Regions from separate parts of the Homo sapiens genome. Here all the other regions are linked to region 1. The links are contacts of gene promoters, found by promoter capture Hi-C in blood cells and fetal thymus (Javierre and others, 2016). All regions are on one chromosome and are shown on one strand. The core of a region is centred on a gene start or on the middle of the fragment in contact, and the rest is flanking DNA. Distances in the headings are between cores, read along the strand shown.

What was found. The method cuts DNA at HindIII sites, captures the fragments that hold promoters and counts their contacts. A CHiCAGO score of 5 or more calls a contact.
Region 2: a fragment that was not itself captured here is called in contact with the fragment with the promoter of CMAS in region 1 in 1 of 17 cell types (erythroblasts); the score reaches 6.6 in erythroblasts.
Region 3: a fragment that was not itself captured here is called in contact with the fragment with the promoter of CMAS in region 1 in 2 of 17 cell types (non-activated CD4 T cells and erythroblasts); the score reaches 6.5 in non-activated CD4 T cells.
Region 4: a contact is called between a fragment that was not itself captured here and the fragment with the promoter of CMAS in region 1, in 10 of 17 cell types (naive CD4 T cells, activated CD4 T cells, total CD8 T cells and 7 more). The highest score is 11.2, in naive CD4 T cells.

What each region holds. Positions count from the first base shown.
Region 1 is chr12:22,044,902-22,048,360 of GRCh38, reverse strand. CMAS (cytidine monophosphate N-acetylneuraminic acid synthetase) reads right to left here and starts at 2,143. Exons shown (of 8, transcript NM_018686.6): 1 at 1,798-2,143. The coding sequence starts at 2,057. RefSeq lists enhancers at 1-50, 1,011-1,716, 2,032-2,326 and silencers at 2,019-2,246, 1,890-2,259. The HindIII fragment of the contact is 10,395 bases long and covers 1-3,459 here.
Region 2 is chr12:22,356,420-22,359,717 of GRCh38, reverse strand. No RefSeq gene overlaps it. Among named protein-coding and RNA genes, the nearest start is that of ST8SIA1, 23 kb to the right of the region's middle. The HindIII fragment of the contact is 7,951 bases long and covers 1-3,298 here.
Region 3 is chr12:22,337,097-22,340,518 of GRCh38, reverse strand. No RefSeq gene overlaps it. Among named protein-coding and RNA genes, the nearest start is that of ST8SIA1, 4.1 kb to the right of the region's middle. The HindIII fragment of the contact is 6,355 bases long and covers 1-3,422 here.
Region 4 is chr12:22,397,722-22,400,877 of GRCh38, reverse strand. No RefSeq gene overlaps it. Among named protein-coding and RNA genes, the nearest start is that of ST8SIA1, 65 kb to the right of the region's middle. The HindIII fragment of the contact is 233 bases long and covers 1,283-1,515 here.

The DNA.
Region 1 (3,459 bases), core at 894-3,393:
TGAAACCATAAAGGGTCTATCCAGAGCTAAGAAATTGAGGATTCTGGCAACAAAGTGCACCATCCTCTTATCCTGCTTTACTTTTTCTTAAAAATATTTATCATAACGTGATACAACACACATTAATGTTCTTGTATACTGCATGTCTTTCCTTATTATAACGTAAGCTCTATGAGACTAAGGGCTGTCTCTACTGCTACTACACGTGGTTCGGTACATACAACAGTGCCTGTTACATAGTAGGTAGGCAGTAAGTATGCTGAATGAATGAATCATTTTTTTGTCCTTGAATCTGACTGTACCTTAATAAGCCTTTCCCTCTTTTGTTATGCCAGTTTGAACAGGGTTTCCTGATATATACAACCTAAGAGTTGTAAATGGTATTAACAGTTTTGTTCTCCATTTACTGTGAATATGATTTTGATCTCTAGTTCATTTCACAAAAATGATATTTCACTATATTACTGCAGTCTGGATGCACCTACTTCTCTCAGTCCTTTTTAGTTTGTACCCTTTCTAAGAATGTAAAAATATCCCAAAGTTTGTGAGCTTCACAAGGACAAAAACTGTGTCCCAATCATCTTGGTATTCCCTTGGACATGTATAGCAGAAATTAGGGCTCAGTAAATAGCTACTGAATTGAACAAAATCCCCAGGTCCTTCCCTATCTCTCCTTCGCACACTTCCTATTGCACTAGTGTTATCTTCTGAGTGGTGGCTCCTATTTGCCTTGGTCCATCCAGGACTTCTTTTGGGTTGAAACATTAAGAAAATTAGTATATTTATACTTTTTTGGCATCTCCCGTTTTTGAACAAGACTGGTTAAATGAAAATCATTTACCCATATATTAATATGGGTAAGCAAATATAGGTTCAAAAAGAAAAAGAGATGACTTCAAAAACAGTCATCTCTTTAAAAATCGAAACATCAAAAGGTTAACATAAATTAATTTCCACAATAACAACACATTCAAATGTAGTTAGGTTGAAGCTATATGTGTAAATTCATTCTTGGCACAGAATTCGATCTCCCTTCTTTTATGAATAACATCAGCTTGTAACTCCTGACCAATTTGGCAATGTATCTAAATTACGCATAATTAAAACTGTCCATAGGGCAGGCGAGGTTCCAAAGGTATGATTAAATGATTTGTAAGTATTAATATATCATAAAACAGTCAGTTGTACACCTTCCCACTGAGTCTCACGTATTTATAAATGTAGGGAGTTTTCTAGATTGTGCTGACTCACAGGAAGATAGCTGGAGTATTTTTCAAAGGTTAGGAAAAGATCTCCAAGCTGAGCTTGAAATTCAGCTCTGACACCCCGACACTCAACTCCATTCATGAACCTGATGCCTCCCTAATCGAGCAGCACCAAGCAGTTATCAGAGGCTGAGCAACAGGGGAGCTTCGATGGCCCCCATCCAAAGAAGTTCACATATTATCACAGATGTTGCACCGGGGTGGCCTCCTTTACTTTTCCCCGTAAGGTCAACCCGGGAGGAGGGGACGGTTGGGGAGGTGTAATCTCCCCTTTTACGGATGATTCTCAAGGGCGGAGACAGGAACTGTCCCAGGTTATGACCATTGGCAGCTACGGAACAAGGAAGGAGCTGGAGCCCTTCCTCCTGGGCTCTCAGCCCGGCCCCAGGCACCCCGGATCTTGCACATCCCTGGCATGAGAGATGGCCCCCTTCCAAGAGCGGTGGCCCCGGAGGCCCCAGCCCCTCCAGCAGCCCGACTCCCTCTCCCGACCCCCGCCCAGGCCGCGCCGCCCACTCTCGCACATGCGCACCTCTGGAAGGCCCCTGAATCCAGGGCCGCACGCAGGACCCAGCCAATGAGCGGGACCCCCGCCAGGTGCTTAATGTTCTTCAGGGGGATGCCTTTGCTGCCTCCCCGGGCCAGAATTAGGGCTGCCAGGTGCGGGGGCTTCTCCACACCTCGGCCCTGGCCGCCGCGAGAGTTGCGCTGCAGCTTCGGCGGCCGGCCCCGGGACGGTCGCCCCCGCGGGTTGGAGACGGAGGTGGCGGCCCCCTTCTCCACCGAGTCCATCTTCCTCCCACGCCTTCTCCCCAGCTTCTCCACATCCGGGAGCTAGTCCCTCACCACCTCAGCTCGGCGCCGCCCGATCCCCGCCTGGCAGCTGGCGCGCGCGGCCGTCCCTCGCCCCGCCCCCTCCCCCGCCCCTCGCGGTGCTCGCTGGGAATTGTAGTCCGCGGCCGCCTCGTCTGGGGCCAGTAGGCCAAGTAGGCTCTGATGAGGTGACCCCAAAACTAAGTCAAGCAGTGGGAGTCCAGAGATATTTGGAGGAAGTGCGGCTTTTGGGGTGCTTGCAAGTGTCTGTAAATTTCTAAAATTAAAAAAGAAAAAAAGTATTTATAATTGCTGAAGAACTTCCCCACTTTAGAATTGTGGTGGGTTTCCCGTTGCATACCTTGATGCACCCTGACACGAATCCATTTTATATTTTAAAATGTACATTTTAAACATACACCTTTTTTTAATGCCCCTGGGTCATTTTTTCCAAGAAATTACTGACCAGCTCATTCAAATATCCTACAGGCGCCTTAAACTCAACGTTTTAAAAACTCCATTTTTCATATGCTCTCCGCACTTTGATCGACATCAGCATTCCCTAGCAGCAGAAATTTGGAAGTCAGCTTTACTGGTCACCTCTAGTGTGGCCGACACTTGGTTTTTTGGTTTTGTTTTGTTGTCTGCTAAAAATCTTTTCCTTTTAGGAATTGATCCCTCTCTCATCCGGTGAGGGTTTCCCTCACATTCTCTGCACTGTGTGTGACCCAAGCTGGTCCATCTACGCACCCCATTTTCCTTAACACACCTGTGGTCTAGGGACAGGCATATGACCAAGCAGAGCCCACTGGAGTCCTTTCCAGAGAGTCTTGGAAAGAAAGGATCTTTCTCGTGCTGACTGGGTGCTAAGGACCTTGTTAACCTGAAGCCTCAGGGCAAGGGTAGGGTAGGGCGGCAGGGGGGCTTTGCTGTTCTGAAATGGGCTGGAAGACTGATGTTCTCCCTGAGGAAGCAGAACAATGACATGTAGGGATTAAAGAGAAAGAATTCTGGAGGCATCATTTAAACTCTTTTTTTTTTTTGAGACAGATTCTCACTGTGTCCCCCAGAAGGCTGGAGTGCAGTGGCACAATCTCGGCTCGCTGCAACCCTCTGCCACCCATTCTCAAGCGTCCTGAGTAGCTGGGATTACAGAGGGGCACCACCACACCCAGATAATTTTTGTATTTTTAGTTGAGTTGGGGGTTTCACCAGGTTGGCCAGGCTGGTCTTGAACTCCTGACCTCAAGTGATCTGCCCGCCTCAGCCTCTCAAAGTGCTGGGATTATAGGCATGAGCCGCCACGCCTGAGCATTTAAACCCTGATCCAGCCAAGAGGCTCAAAGACATACACCCACACACACCTCTCTTAGGAAAAAAA
Region 2 (3,298 bases), core at 702-3,201, 310 kb before region 1:
TTATGTCTAAACAGAACAGCCTTGGGTTGATGCAATTATTGGATTCTGGTGAGCAATAAACCATAACATCTGCTATATAGTGGGAGGAAAATATCAGGAAACCAAAAAAGAGCCTTTTAGGGGCATAGCGATGTTGTCATGGTAAGTCCTAGGGTTATGGTGAAGCCACTGTTTAAAAAGTGAAAAAGAAACAAAACAACAACAAAAACCCAAGACACAAAACATGCATCTGAGTGCATAGTTGGAATAAGTGTCATTGTGAATGGAAGGCTTTGCTGTTGCTGGGACTTCTTCTACCCTTTGCCTGATTTTAATTGAGTATGTTAATTAGGAAATCTTAGAATTGTCCAAACTCTCCTCCATAGTGAATATTAAGCAATACCCAAATCCCAGAAGGATAACAAGAAATTTCCAGCTTTAATTTAAATATATAATAGAGTGGTTTAATCCTATAGTAAGAATGTAGATTGGTGTAGCCTCTATGGATAAACAGTATGGAGATTCCTAAAGAAATTAAAAGTAGAACAACCATATGACCCAGCAATCCCTCTTCTGGTTACATGCCCAAAAGAGATGAAATCACCAACTCATAAAGATATCTGCATTCTCATGTTTATTACAGCATTATTCACAATGCCCATGATAGGGAAACAGTGTAAGTGTCTGCTGATGAGCAAATGGATAAAGATAATCTGATATATATATATCTCAGATATATTTTAAGGCAGAACAGTATTGTATCTCATATATATATATCTCGTATACATATATCTTGTATATATATCTCATCTACATATATCTCTCATATATATCTCAACTACATATATCTCATATATATATCTCATATACATATATCTCATATATATATCTCATCTACATATATCTCATATATATCTCATCTACATATATCTCATATATATCTCATGTACATATATCTCATATATATCTCATACATATATCTCATATATATATCTCATCGACATATATGTCATATATATATCTCATCGACATATATCTCATATATATATCTCATCTACATATATCTCATATATATATCTCATATATATCGCATATATATCTCATCTACATATATATCATATATGTCTCATCTACATATATCTCATATATCTCATCTACATATATCTCATATATATCTCATCTACATATATCTCATATATATCTCATATATATCACATATATATATCTCATCTACATATATCTCATATATATCTCATCTACATATATCTCATATATATCTCATCTACATATCTCATATATATCTCATCTACATATATCTCATATATATCTCATCTACATATATCTCATATATATATCTCATCTACATATATCTCATATATATATCTCATCTACATATCTCATATATATCTCATCTACATATATCTCATATATATATCTCATCTACATATATCATATATATCTCATCTACATATATCATATATATATCTCATCTACATATATCATATACATCTCATCTACATATATCATACATATATCTCATCTACATATATCATATATATCTCATCTACATATAACATATATATATCTCATCTACATATATCTCATATATATCTCATCTACATATATCATATATATATCTCATCTACATATATCTCATATATATCTCATCTACATATATCTCATATATATATCTCATATACATATATCTCATATATATCTCATATACATATATCTCATATATATATCATCTATATATCTCATATATATCTCATCTACATATATCTCATATATATATCTCATATATATATGAGATACAATACTGTTCTGCCTTAAAAAAGGAGATCCTGCCATTTGTCACAACATGGACGGACCTGGAGGACATTATGCTAAGTGAGATAAGCCAGAAACAGAAAGAAATGTATTTAATGATCTCACTTACATATGGAATCTTTTAAAAAAATGTCAAATACATAGAGACAGAGAATAAAACAGTGGTTACTGGGGTGGGGGGATGTGAAGGAAATGGGGTGATGAAGGTCAAAGGATACAAAGTAGCAGATATGTAGGATGAACAAGTCTAGAGATCTAATGTACATGAGGACTGCAGTTAATGAAATTATATCGTATTCGGGATTTCATTAAGCACATTTTAGCTGCTCTTGCCACAAAAAGAAAGTGACCATGTGAGATGATAGATATATTAATCTGCTTCACTGCAGTAACTATTTTACTATTTAAATGTATCCAATAACATCATATTGTAAACCTCAAATATACACAATAGCATTTATTTTAAAAATAATAAAAATTAAAATTAAAATATAGTAGAATGATACTAATTTCCAACAGCTTGCTTTACAACCGTCCTCTCTTGCTTGTGGGAAGAAAAATGGGTGACTCCTGTAAAGTAACTTGTTTATTGTGGCTTAAACCAAGTAGCTCCATTGATAACCCCCATCATGTCAGACATGGGTGAACCTATTTAGGAAACCAATAGGGTAATATGACTGGGATGCTGTGAAAGTCGTGGTGTTTTTTTTTTTCTTTTCTGTCCTAGTCTTAGAAGAAATCAGGCAAAATGTCCCTTTTCAGGGGAATGATTGATATACACTCACCATTCTCTGCTACAAGTAGTTGAATTCTCCAGTATATTTTGACGAGTTGGTGAGGTAAGGTTTAGACTTAATCACAGTCAAATGCAAGTTGATATATGCATTAATGATAACAGGAAAGTTTCCCTGTCAGAGCGGGAAGCCTAGGAGGATCTGAGAACAGTACTGGCATCTATGAGTAGTTGAAGATGGCTAATCTGTGTGGTTAAAATACAGCTCAATCAGTTAAACACTTGAACGTGGCTTGGAGTGAAGGCCGCAAGAGACAGTCCACCGAAGGCAGAGAATAAATGAATGTGTTTGCTAGGCTCTGCTAATAAGAAGGAGACACAAAAATCTGTGGGGCATTTTGGGCTTGGGGGACACCACTCGCTGTTCCTGGGCATCTTGCTAGCTAAAATACATCGAGTGACAAGAAAGAAAAGTGTGAATTTGAAAGATATCCCAAAACAAAAACAGGCTTTGAAGACTTACAGAGAGCTGTAACCCAAAACAGCACTATTTGGGTTGGCCTACTGTACAAATTATTTTGGAGGTTTTTACTATCTAGATAGATATGTGCAGATTGTAGTCTCTTGCCAAAGTTGTTAACACTGTTCTCCTTGCACTAAGCAGTGACTGCTGGAAGAATATTGAATTTGAAGATACTTGATGTCAAGACAAGATATGGCCCCTTTGAGAGACAATTACTGCCCTTTTACTGGGCT
Region 3 (3,422 bases), core at 487-2,986, 290 kb before region 1:
TTGTTGTAGATAATCTTCTGGGTATATTTCACAGTGGTTACTCTTCCCTACCCATGTAAAACCTTAAGATGATCTTTCTCAGTTTCTCTTCCTGAAAACCTGATGATGAAACAGGAGAGTTCCCTTATTCTCCTCACAGGACATGCAACAGGGGTGTGGCTTGCGCCTTCGGTGGCCCTGCTACTCAAACTCCTAGGGGGAGCATGCAGATGGGTAGGTGCAGAGGCTGTGTGGAGCACTTTTGGGCTTTGGCCCCATGGCAGCATCTAGGGATGGGTGTCTGCGACTCCCGAAGCCCAAGTGGGCATGTGTTACAGTGTGCTTTTTCAGCTTTGCTGTCTGCAGACAGCTTGTGTTAATCAGCTCAATAGACCCTCTGCCTTATTGCAAGGGCAGAGGGCCAGTGTGACAGCTTTCTGTATCCTGAGCTCTTACCCAGTGTGTTGGAAAAATCGGATCACATGTGGGCTGGAAGGATCAGTGCAAAGTTTTATTGAGTGGTGGGGGTGGCTTTCAGCAAGATGGATGGGGAGCTGGAAGAGGGGGATGGAATGGAAATGTGGTCTTCCTCAGGAGTTGGGCTGCCCAGCTGCCAGACTCTTCTCTAACCGCCCCCGGCCGAACTCCTCTTGGCATCCAGATGTCCCTGCTCTTCTTTCTTTCTCTGCCATGTCGTTCTGCCGTTGCTGGTCTGCCGGTCTGCTGGTGTCTGCTGGTGTGTTCTTCTGCTTCGCTCAACCTTCAGCTGCTTGCGTCTGTGCCTGCTAAGGCCTTAGGTTTATATGGGAACAGGATGGGGGGCATGGTAGGCCAGAGCAGTCTTGGAAAATGCAACATTTGGGCACGAAAACAGGAGTGCCTGTTCTCACTTAGGTCTGTGGGCACAGGCCTGAGGGTGGAGCCATCTCCAGGGACACTGTCCTTTTTTACCCAATACTTCCCTGGCCCCCATCCTGTGTGAGTGAGATTCTTGGAGGTAAAACTATAAAAAGTGTGGAGGCCCACCTGACTATGATCTCCAGGACTTCCTGATTGTGATCCCCAGGAGTTTCTCCCTTTCACTCTAGTCCACACTTAGCCTCCAGCAATTCCACTATGCCAATTCCAAATGACCACTGAAGCGTTCCTACCAGTTTATGGCTTCAACATCTTCTGCTCCAGATAAACATACCTCAACTCTGGCTCTGGATTTGTCCATTTCTCCATTTTGGAGGAGAGGGGAATTGCCTTGTAACTTTAGTTCTTTATTGAGCCCAAGTAAAGTTGTTGATTTTCAGCTTTCTTGCTTTAAATAAATCTAATCCCAACATAATTTCCAATCTTTTGCATGCATTTTCTTCTTTAAACTTCCATTATTTTCTGTTTCTTATTTTCTAAAATTTCAGTGTTATATACCTTTGGTGTAGGTTTAAAAAATTCATTTTATTGAGTCCTTAATGAACTCTTAAATTTTAGGATTCTTTTTAGTATGTCTTTGAAAATCTGCTTTTTGTTTCTTGTTGTTTGGATATTTATTTTTTCTTTGAGCCTATAATTTATTATCTTGTTTACCCTCTTTTATATTTTTGGCCTACTTTCTGGGATATTTCTTTAACTTTGTAATTCAACTTTTCTATGAATTCTGTTATATATTTTGTTACCATATTTTAAGTTTCAAAGGACTTTATTTTTAGTCATCTGAACATTCCTTTTGTTCTTGCTTCATTGGATTGTGTCTCAGTCCATGTGAGAATATTAATTATGGTTTTTATTGAAGATTTCTTATGTTTCCTGCATTATCATTTTTTCCTAGAGTTGATTTCTGTGTGTGATCATTTGCTTGTTTTGTCTCTACTTTCATGTTGGAGACTCTCTTCAAATGTCTAGGGATCCTTGACTCTCCCCTCATATTTAAGAAGGAGGCCTGAAAAAGAGGCCACGAAACTCGGTGTAGGCAGAGCTTATACACTAATGGGTCTCACTAGAGGGTGTTAGACAGGGATTTGGCCATTCGATTGGAGATCTCTTAAACATATCAGAATCTGTAGGTCTTCTCTTTTGTGCTGGTCAGTCTCTAGAGATTTAACCTCCCGTTTTAAGCCAGTTGGGGAATAAGATCTAGATGTTTCAACTGCTCCTTTTTAAAGATTTCCAACAAACCTCTTAGTTTGTTTCATTCATTACCTCCATCTCCAGAGGTCCTAGGTGCCTTCGTTTCTGAGCCTTTCAAGAACTCTCTAGTATAAATTAGCTTGATTCTTGTTGGCTTCTCTCTATGCTCCTCAATTTTCTGTGCACGTGGACACACACACACACACACACACACACACACACACACACACACACACACACACAGAGTTACTTGAAGGCCCAGACCTTTCTCTCTCCTGATAAGTCAGTTAACACTTGTTTAATTGCTTTCCTGCTTGTGAACTTTTTGACATCCTTTGTCTGCTTTTGTATTCCTTCGTTTTTTCTTGTTCTTCTGAATCTTTTTCACTTTTACTCCTTTACTCTTCTTTTAGTGAGGTCACAATAGGGAGTGGAGATAAATAAATGCATTTATTCAGATAAACTATATTTATAACCTTTCTCAATCTACAACCTTATTTACCTTGGTGTTGTAATTGGTTGTGAAACAGGCATCATTTTATGCTTTTGACTGGCCATTCCAAGCCATTCTGACAAGAAGAACTTGAGCAGAGACTGAAGATTGGCCTTTTAAAATTTTATCTCAAATCACTGACAATTCTGTTTAATCTGGACTCCTGCCTTTACATTTTTCTACTACACATTTATAGAGTTTTAAAAGTTGTTTAGTCCCTGAGGAAATCCTGTTTGTGTCCGCTAAGCATACTCAGATGCAGAAGTATAAAAGAATACCTAAGCTACTTACTATAAGTCATACAAACAAGATGGCTAAATATCAATTAAAATATTTTATTTAAAACATTAAAACTTGGGGGTTCATACTTTTCCTTAAACAGTGATGCCTTGGCAATAGACTGAATAAGTTTGAGGATCTCATTATAAAACCAAGCAACAATTATTTGTTGAAGTGCCTGAGTTGATACCTGGAGGAACATGAAGAAAATGTGAAATATTGTTCTTGCTCTTCTCCTAGACACTTAGCCATGCCCTGTGGAGTCCTAATTTGATCAAAAGCACAGGCTTTTCATTTGATACATAAAACTAAATCCCCTTCCTGCCTAGTTGGTGAGACATAGTTATATATGAAAAATACTAGCAATACAAGACAACACAACACAACTAAGTGTTTAATCATCAGTCAGAGCCAGCAAATACTATGACATCAGAACAGGAGGTCAAAGAGAGTAGAAGCAGATACCACAAATATTTATTGAGTTCTCATAAAGTCTGTGTTTTAGGTGTCCTGGGAACACATTATTGAATGAGAACTTTCTAGATAACTTGGCTTGGTC
Region 4 (3,156 bases), core at 150-2,649, 350 kb before region 1:
TCTTAGAGGGGCACCCAGGTGTATGAGGTGTCAGTTGGCCCCTACTGGGAGGTGCCTCCCGGTTAGGCTACTTGAGGGTCAGGGACCCACTTGAGGAGGCAGTCTATCCATTCTCAGATCTCAAACTCTGTGCTAGGAGAACCACTAGTCTCTTCAAAGCTGTCAGACAGAGACATTTAAGCCTGCAGAAGTTTCTGCTGCCTTTTGTTCCGCTATGCCCTGCCCCCAGAGGTGGTGTGTACAGAGGCAGGCAGGCCTCCTGGAGCTGTGGTGGGCTCCACCCAGTTCGAGCTTCCCAGCTGCTTTGTTTACCTACTCAAGCCTCAGCAATGGTGGACGCCCATCCCCCAGCCTTGCTGCCACCTTGCAGTTCGATCTTAGACTGCTGTGCTAGCAGTGAGCGAGGCTCTGTGGGCGTGGGACCCTCCCAGCCAGCCAGGTGCGGGATATAATCTCCTGGTGTGCCATTTGCTAAGACCATTGGAAAAGCACAGTATTAGAGTGGGAGTGTCCCGATTTTCCAGGTACCATCTGTCACAGCTTCCCTTGGCCAGGAAAAGGAATTCCCTGACCCCTTGCACTTCCTGGGTGAGGCGATGCCCGCCCTGCTTTGGCTTACACTCCGTGGGCTGCATCCATTGTCCTGCACCCACTGTTTGACAAGCCCCAGTGAGATGAACCCGGTACCTCAGTTGAAAAGGCAGAAATCACCCATCTTCTGCATCGCTCACACTGGGAGCTATAGACTGGAGTTGTTTCTATTTGGCCATCTTGGAACCTCTCCCTTCTAATTCTTAAAAGCAGAAGATAAAATTTCCACATGAAAGATGTTCTCCCCTTATAAGAAGGGAAGTAACATTCTTGTCAAGAATGCAAAGTTGAGGCAAAGGGAAATCTGTACAAACAAAAATTTGTTTCTCAGTCTCAGCTGAAAACTCTAAGAGGATAGAAATAAAATTTTGCCTACTCTGCAGCTTCTTATTACAGACACTAAAGATATTTGAGTTTGTAAGTAAACGTGCTACATTTAAAAATTGTACGATGCTTTCTCATAGTTATGAAATGGCATACTTCCTCATTTTTGCTGAAAATTAAGTTTACTAAGAGCTAAGAATTAATTAATATATGTAATTAAGGACACTAGAAATAATAAGAAAAACGAATTAATATAAATTAGACAAGGAAAGTAAGGTTTATTTTTGGTAAGATAAGTTATAAAGTATAAGGATGTGTTTTTTGCTGAGAAAAAGAAAATTATTGTTCTATTTTAGAGTTTAAAGCTTGTTTCAAATGAAAAAGAGGGAAATGAAGGACAAAAACTAAATGGACATAGAAATTGGGGTGGGGGGAGAGAGAGAAAGAGAAAGAGATAATATGAAGAGAGATAATCTTATGTAGTTAGGCTGGCTGAAATGAAATGAATTTATTATAATGGTTTAAAAATGAGGCTTAGTATCAAAAGTATGTTGAGACAAAATTAGATTTTGGTCTTATTTTTGTTAAAAGAACAAAGCTTTCTTAGGTTATTGGTGTATTCCTGGTAAGTGACTATGAAAGGTTTCTCTTTACCTCCTAAGTGATTTGCCTAAAAACAAAAGGATTTTGGTCTTATCAAAATACTTTCCTTTGCTTCATGTTGTCTTGATCATGTCTGACAACTTAAGAAAACAGACTTCTCTGTTAAAAGAGCTGAGGTTTTTGTCAACTATATAACTTTCTGTATTTGTCTTTGAAATCATTAATTCTTATTTTGGTTACAGGGATAACTAAGTATTGTTTCAAGTGTCCCATTTAATCAAGTGTTTAAAATCTTTTGACATTTTTGACTATTTCACCTTCCCCAAACCAAATCTTAAATACAATCTGCTTGACCTCAACCTAATTTTGAGATTTTCCAGAGGGCTGCTGGAGAAACACAAAGGATTAATATCTAGTCTTATCAGAAAGAGATGTTAAAATAATTAGGTTTATTTGGTATGTTAAATTGTATGGGAAGCATTGTTAAATAAGAAGTGATGATAAACCTTCTTTAGATTATATTTATGTGGATATAGGTATTCCAAAAATTATATAGAGTTGTTAGAAATTTTTTAATTTTCTTATTGTCTGTATAATCAGTTATAATCCTGGTTATTACCTTAAAATGTTATATGTCACAGAAATAACCATATTTCCTCATCAATTTCATTTATATAAATGCTTATCATCATCTTTAACTGTGGTCATTTTAAGTATTTTGTCATTCAAAAATAGTTATTTTTTTACTCTGATGGTTTTTCTAGAAGTTTTTGCAAGTAGCTATGTTACAAAATTGCAAAATTCTGACAGGTTTCTGATAGCTTTAAAATCATACTACTAGGGTTGTTCCTAGCCTTGCAGGTCCACAAGCTGGGGCTGGATGACTTGATATGCATTTCAGAGAAATCACCACAGCAGCTCATATGTTGACAACCTTTTTGCCTGCTGTGTGGGCCATGCAGAAAGTTAACCAGAATGCCCAATGGCATCACCAGAGACATTCAAACTGCAAACCAGGAAAATCTATTATATTGAAACTGCCGTATTAGAAAAAAAATGCTGTTTACACATTAATAAGCCAGGAATTGTAGCCCAAAATCTTAAAGATCTAAAAGATCAGATCCAGATATTCACCAGATTGGGGAAGGACAATCAACTGATCTAATTTGTTAAATCTTGGCTATTGGGGACCTTGGATTTGGGATATTTTTAAAGGCTTGCCATTATCCTCCTATGATTTATAGTCATAATATCCTTCTGTGCTGTCATCTTTCAAGAGTTTTAAATGCTTGTCAGCAGCCACTAACTCAGCAGATGATCTCCATGAAGACTGAATGAAAACACTACAAGAACAAGAATCATCAAAAGAGCCTATCAAGATTCTAGTTTGTAACCAACAGATGTCTACAGAAAGAAAACATGTAAATACTGAGGTAATGGCGAATAATTGGTCACACTCAGTTCAACTGAGAGAATGACCAAAGGGAAGAATTGTTAAAGAAAAGTAAAAATGGAGACCATGGTTTTGATGTACTTCAAGGCCAACCATAACCACATAGCCAAAACTTGAGCCATTCTGAAATGACCTAAGTTTTCACTGAAATGCCAGCTCTAATCATAAGCAAAACACAAAATGTA